Regions from separate parts of the Homo sapiens genome. Here region 2 is linked to region 1. The links are contacts of gene promoters, found by promoter capture Hi-C in blood cells and fetal thymus (Javierre and others, 2016). All regions are on one chromosome and are shown on one strand. Each heading gives the region's core, a stretch centred on a gene start or on the middle of the fragment in contact. The rest is flanking DNA. Distances are from core to core; before and after follow the strand shown.

Region 1 (3,680 bases), core at 426-2,925:
AGTGAGTGGGGGAAAGGATGCTTTATCAACATACAGCACTGAGGGAAAGACACTGGAGTCTTATGTCATTTATACTTAAATTCCAGACGAGTTGAAAATTCAAATGCAAAAAAATGAAACTACAAAACATAAGAGAAAACATTTTGAAAAACAATTTTGGAGTGAGAAGTGCAGTTTAAAGGAAAGTACCAAATCCAAAATCATAAAAAAATTGGATAAATCTGAATATATAAACAACATATTTCTGCATGGAAAAATACCATGAGCAAAGCTTAAAACATTGATAGGGAAATAATTTCTAAATGCATGTCAGCAAAGGACTAACCTTAACGTGTAAAGTGCTGTTGAAAATCAACGAAAGAATAGAAAACTGCGTAGGACCTGAACAGGCAATTCACAGAAAAAAGCTGAAAAACATTGTGAAAGATTCTTAACATCATTTGTAATTAAATTCAAGTTGAAATAATAATAAGATAAATTTTCATCTCAGGTTGGCAAAGATCACTTTTCACAGCGGGGTAGTGAAACAGACATCTTATTTGTTGATGCTGAGTGTTAATTGGTAAAAACTTTTGGAAGGCAATTTAGTATTATCTGCCAAATTTTAAAACTATTTATCTATATCCAGCTCCTCTGATCCAGCAGTTCTACATAAACCCTCTCCTGAAAAAGCGTACCAACAGATACTTATTATATCAAAAGATAAGAATGCCCATCGATTAGTGACCAATTAAAATACTTTCATACAATGGCATATATATATGAAAAAGAATGTTAAATACCCTTTTACAGTAAAATATGTATCAAATGCCTATTATGTGCCAGGGACTGTTCTAGATACTGGGATGTAGTTGTAAACCAAACGAACTGAAATCCCTGCCCCTCATGGAGCTCACATTCCAATGAAGGGATACAAGGTAACAGCAAGATGCAGAAAAGAGTAAATAGCATATTAACTAGTATTATAAAGAAGAGGACGTAGAGACAGGCAAACACACAAATATACATGTTTGCCTATGCACAGAAAAGCTCTGGCAGGTAATAAATGGAACTGTTTTGCCCCTGGGGAGGAAGACCGCAGGTCTAGGGAGGGAGTCGTAGTTTCCGGCGAAAATATTTGTTTACTACATATGCATATTAATTAAAATGGGGGGGAGGCGGATAACACGATTTTATATTTAAAAAAATTGCTGGTAAAGTCCTTGGAGCATCAGCAACTCAACCGTTTTCATTGCAATGTTCGAAGCAACGCTGGATTGCAGGGTCTTCGCCGCTTACACCCTGCAAATCACTGTGGGACGAGAATCGAGGGCTGGTCTAGGGCAGGCAGTAGACAAATGAGTTAAGAGAGTGCTCTCGAGAGCACTCCGAGGCAAAGCACAAACCAAAGATACATAATACTTGCATAAATGCCGACACACAGAGAGAAAAAACTAGGCGCTGTGAGAGCAAGTTCACAAGGTGGCGCAGAACCACATTTCCCCAAAGTAACAGCGAACAGGTCTAGTCTGCAGCTCTGCGCCTGCGTCAAACGGCAGCGCATTTGACCACACGGCCGCCGGAGGCACAGTCGTGTTCGCATCTGGTCTAACAGACCCGCGAGAACGAAGGACGCTTGCCTTTTTCCGGTCGGGGAAGGGGGAAGAAGGTAACTTCCGGTGACGGGGTTGCATCACTTCCTCTCAAGCTTGGCGTTTGTTTGGTGGGGTTACACGCGGGTTCAACATGCGTATCGAAAAGTGTTATTTCTGTTCGGGGCCCATCTATCCTGGACACGGCATGATGTTCGTCCGCAACGATTGCAAGGTAAGGCGGTCGACACCAGTTCTTGCTTCAGCCTAGCTCCCGCGGTTCCTGGGCGCGGCGGCTCGGTGCTGGGTGCTTCTGCGTCTGCCGTGTTTGGCCCGGGTTCCTCCCGTTGTTCCCCTGGGAGGGTGGCTTAACTGGGCCTCCGTTCTCAACGTTCCGCTTCGGGGGTTTCTCCTTGCCCGTCTTCCGAGCGGCGCTGGCCACCACGCCACCCTTGGGTGGCGTTGGCAGCGAGGAACTTCAGGAGCGATCCCAGCTAGCGCCTACCAGGAATCTTGGATGTCTGTGAGGGCTGTTTGGCCACTCATGTACTTGGGCCAAATTCTTGAATCCAGTAAACTTTGTTGAGTGTATACCCTGTCAGGCATTACACTAAGGTCCATACTAAAGTGTAGAGGTTGATGGAAGTGTTCCGTATTGCTTAATGGTAGAGTTATGTATTAAGTTACTGCAGGTGAGTTGGGGAGGGTCCTGTACGGAAAGACTCAGCATAGAGGTGATATTTATCTTGGATCCTGAATTTTGCGGAAGAAAGCGGAGGGGGCCTTCTAAGTGGAAGGAAAGTGAACATTTTGAGAAAAGGCAGAGAACGGAGCAAATACATTTGTTTGAGGAAGTGACTGGATTGTAAATGATGATAGAGCCTTGGGCGTAGGGCTACAAGTATAATAAGTCTGTAAACGTAAATAATAAATATGAGTCCTAGTTGTGAAAGACGTTTTGAATGGTACATGAATTTGTCCTGTCATTACAGAATGAATCCCGTTCCTCTCTTTCTCAGAGAAACACATTGTTTCTCAGAATTTGATCTCTTACGTTTGCTTCTGAATTACTGGGCGTTTACAGATTCCTGGTTTTCACCAGATCTATTGAGTTGGAATCTTTGGGGGAGGGGAAGAGGGTCTAAGAATCTGTATATTAAGGTGAATTTGACGTGCTAAATAATTACAAGTCTGACTTCTTCACCTTATATCTCTGTAACAGATCAAAGATATTGACCTCATTAATTAGATCCAAGGGATTCAGCTGAAAGTGACGGACCAAAGCCATGTTTGATAACGTAAAAGAACCTAGAAGATTTTGAATACTTGCTCTCAGGAACATGATAAGAAGTTTATAAAAATGAACCAAAAGATTGCCAGGTTGGGGTCTAATTCAGAGTAGGCAGTATGGTTTTATACATGATGTCGTTACGATTTTGTGATTTTCGTCCAGGATGCTTGTCGGCTGGATATTGGAATTAGAACAACAGATCGTGAGAACTGTCAAGACCTGGGTATTGATTTGGTAGACACAGTGGAAGTTAAGTTGATGAAGAATAAGGACAGTGTTGAGTTGGTTGGGAGTCACCAGTGGATCCAGAAGAGAGTTGTTGGAGGAAATAAAAGATAGAGGGCCTGAAGCACTAACAAAGAACAAGTATCTCATCTTTTTTTATGCTTGATTTCCAAACCTAAATCTCCTGAGCTCCAAATCTGAATTTTCCATTGGATGTACCTAACAGTAGGTACAGTGGGCCTACTGAAAGAGAATTCCTTAGTACCTCAGATCTTTTTGCTCTGTGAATTAATACCACTCTTAAGTGCCCGGATAGTTTTGCTAGAAACATGAGAGTCGTCTGAATCTTTTCACCTTTTGTATCTAGTTATCAAGTCTTACCTATCCTGCCTCTGCAAAGATAGTGGTGTCTTTGCCTTCTTTCTACTTTCCTGTCCTAGTTCAGATTAGGCTCTTACCACTTTTATAGCCTCTTATCTAGCCTTTTTTTTTTTTTTTTTTTTTGAGACAGGGTCTCACTGTCTATTGCCCAGGCTGGAGTGCAGATGTGTGATCATGGCTCTCTGCAGCCTCAGTCTCCTGTACTTAAGCAG
Region 2 (3,742 bases), core at 144-2,643, 800 kb before region 1:
CATAATTTCAAGCTACCAACATGACATCACCAAATCTGCAGTTGGATAGAGGTGTACACAATTGTACCTTGGATGCCAGTATGAGTTGAGTCCAGCACACTACTGCTTGGGAGTGTGTCTCAAAAAAAATTACTGCATGCAAACATTTGTCTCAGAAGATATAGGGTGAAACAAAAAAAGACAAAAAGCTACCAGTCTGAGCCAATTACCAGACAATGATGGGTGTACCGACATTAGCCATGGATACCAATAAGAAGAGAAAAAAAATCTTAGGTAGAAGAGGAAAGAATTTCAATTGTATAACAAACTGGTGATAGGAAGAAGTTGTAGGAATGGGCAGGGGGTATGAATTTTAGAATACTCAGAAGTCTCTAGCCTTTGCAACTAGATAGACAATAATGCTATTTCCAGAGACACAGAATACAGGATTATAATGAGTTCATTTTGGGATCTATTTAGTTTGAGACTTTTTTCATGATACCAAGAAAGAGACAGTTAGTGGGAAATACAGGTCTGAAGCTTAGGTAAGAGATAAGGGTGTGGAAGCTATAGCAAGGTATTGTGAAATTTTATTGTTGATAACTACTTATATTCCTGGAATATCCTGCCGCCCTTCCTCTGGCTCCAGTCAGACAGCAGTGAGGTTTTCTGATTACTGCCCTCAGGCTAGAACTGTTACTACAGAAATGAAAAGAGAAAGATAAGTCAATGCTCAGCTTATAAGTTTTAAAATAGAGCTTTGAAACTCCTGGTAGAAAAAAATATGTTGACACTGGGTATGATGGCACATGCCTGTAATCCCAGCACTTTAGGAGGCCAAGGCAGGCAGATCACTTGAGGCCAGGTGTTCAAAACCAGCCTAGCCAACATGGTGAAACGCTATCTCTACTAAAAATAGAAAAATTAGCCAGGCATGGTGGCACATACCAGTAATCCCAGCTACTCAGGAGACTGAGGCAAGAGAATCACCTGAACCCAGGAGGCAGAGGTTACAGTGAGCCAAGATAGCACCACTGCACTCCAAACCTGGGATTATAGGCGTAAGCCACCGTGCCCAGCCATAACAAATCTCTTTATATATCTGCATCCTATTGGTTCTGTTTCTCTAGGGAACCATAATACAGGGTCTTTAATCTGTCAGTCTGGAACAGTTCCTCCAACTTTCTTGACTTCTATGTCCTTGACACTTTTGAAGATTACAGGGCAGATATTTTGTAGTACGTTCCTTAAATTGGATTTGTTTTCTCATGATTAGATCCAAGTTATGGAGGAAAAGCAATGGGTTGCAAGATTTTGGTTTATCAAATGTTCACTTTGATCATTTGATTAAGGTGGTATATTTCAGCCTTTTAATCTATGTAACTAAGTACTTTCTGGAAATATATGTTGAACCCTGTAAAAATCTCATTTTTCATTGAACTTTGAATGTACTCATTTATTATAATTTATATCTGTAATGAACACATGGTACCAGAATTATTCATTGGATTATAATCTGTTGCTATCATAATTTATTTTAGTGCTCAAGTTAGGCCATCTTTGGCCAGTGGGAGCTTTTTTCAGGTTGGTTCCTGTGTCCTTTTATTCTGTCTCCATCATTACTTTCATTATTTTCTGGGATAACAAGATGTTTCAGGCTCAACTTTTATTTGCCTTGTCCTAGTCCTGGAATCAGCCATTTTTCCAAGGAGCCCTGGTTTCTTTTAGTAAAAAGTTAAAATATGGATGCAAGATATGCTCATTGCTTTTGGGGTGTCATTGTTCCCAGGCCCTCTTAGAATACAAATGTAGAAAATATTTGTGTGTGTGTGTGTGTGTGTGTGTGTGTGTGTGTGTATGCAGCAGAGGTTTACATCTACATTTATTTATATACTATATATATATGTTAAAAACTTTTGAGTTCATATCAACACCACCAATTTCATTATAACAACACAAGACTCATTCAAGTTTTCTCTTTCCATTCTTGTAACTTCTTCAACAGTGACTAATGTGGTTCTCATTATCATTCATATATTCACTTATTGGATCACTTGTCTCTACAAGTAACTAATTTCCCATTTCTGCCATCACCAGTCCACCAAGCAAACCCTTCCTTGAACACACCTGGGTCCCACTGCCTTGCACCTGGCCGTCTTTCTCACTACCTCCCACCCCTTGTGGGGTGAGGAGGGCATTTTAAAAGATGACCATGATACCTGAACTCTCTTCTTTACTCCTTCCTCTGCCTTGTAACCTGGAACATAGACGTAATGATTGAAGCTTGAGCCACTCTCTGGACTATGAGGATAAGGGTCACACCTACAAACATCAGAGCAGTGAGCTGTGAAGTGCCTGAATTTCTGACCCTTTGGCAGAGCAAACTAGCCATATTAACCCTGCCCTGCCCACTGTCTAGACTTTTACATGACAGCCATATAACATGAATCTTTAAATCTTATTAGTTTAGGTAACAGCCAAATGTAATTCTACTTGATAAAGATGTCCACAGCTAGAGGCCAGCGGGAACACAGATACATCTACTAATTCCAGGAGGGAGTGATGAGAACCTTTATCACCAAGATGAGGGAGCACAACAGCCTGTTAGAAGTCAGAATCCAGCTTAGCAAAAAGAGGGTCAGGCAAGACCAATGAATTGATTGGGACTATGTATTCTACTACTGGAGGCAGAAACTTAGTTCATTTCAGAAAATCAAATAAACATTTCTTGCACTACTGAGCTCTGGATCTGAGATGGGCTCTATGAAGAAAGTAGCTGAAACTATGGTAATGGCAATGGCAATGGATGAGGTCCAGGGAGTTTCCAGTGGAAGAAAAAATGAACCTTAAAAATCTCAAACATTAACTATTAGAAAGGAAGCAGCCAGGGGATATTAAGAGTAAGAGAGAATTAAAGGAGAACTTCTGAACAAGACTTTTTTATATCCCTTAGGGAATTAATTACCAACATTAAAGTGCATTTCGTATCATTACCTTTCATATTGTTACATTCCACATCCAATTTTGATCCCAGGGGGTGATATTTTAAAAACTAGAAACAATTTCTGCATCACAGTGAAATCTATAGGCAGAGTTAAAGAGGTTTACGTATACAGACTACTAGAAAGTCTAGACCAGGTTTACTGGTTTTCATTCATTTCTTGCTTCTTAATCAGTTTGGAGGCTCATGTAAAGGCAGATTTGAAGGGAGAAAAGACTCAAGAACAAGAGATAGAAGGGGTGATGCTATTGGAGGTTGCTAGAATTGCCTGGATTTTGGCTTGGGATGATCCCTAGCACAGGTATGAGGCACAGAATCAATTGTTATGCACCATGTCACATTCTTCACACGTGCCTCACATGGTTATACACACACTCAAACCAAATCAACATGAACCTAATTGAAGGCAGCCTAGGTAGACAAAACGCCTTCATGAGAGTTCTGCGCAGTTGAGTGATATGTAGAGGAGTTCTTCATTCTAAACAGCTTTCTCAGTGGTGGTTGGTTATTGGACCACCAGCTGATATCACCATCCCGATTTGAGCTTCCTTTAATTTCAGGTGCCCCTCCTAGCTGTTGACCGGGATACAATAATTACTCTAGTTCATCTTGTATTGGTAGCTGTTTAATTCTTCATGATTTCATATTCGGAAAGACAGAATAAGAAATCATGAGTCAAATCAGTGGTCTTTAGAAGTATCATCACTAATACCTATTGGATACATCAAATGGCCAATTTGCTTTACTTTATAATCCCTTGGG

Evidence for each region. The method cuts DNA at HindIII sites, captures the fragments that hold promoters and counts their contacts. A CHiCAGO score of 5 or more calls a contact.
Region 2: a fragment that was not itself captured here is called in contact with the fragment with the promoter of RSL24D1 in region 1 in 1 of 17 cell types (non-activated CD4 T cells); the score reaches 5.3 in non-activated CD4 T cells.

The regions. Positions count from the first base shown.
Region 1 is chr15:55,194,936-55,198,615 of GRCh38, reverse strand. RSL24D1 (ribosomal L24 domain containing 1) reads left to right here and starts at 1,675. Exons shown (of 6, transcript NM_016304.3): 1 at 1,675-1,806. The coding sequence starts at 1,726. RefSeq lists enhancers at 1,711-1,870, 1,664-2,555. The HindIII fragment of the contact is 1,416 bases long and covers 274-1,689 here.
Region 2 is chr15:55,995,543-55,999,284 of GRCh38, reverse strand. No RefSeq gene overlaps it. Among named protein-coding and RNA genes, the nearest start is that of NEDD4, 3.8 kb to the right of the region's middle. The HindIII fragment of the contact is 1,743 bases long and covers 522-2,264 here.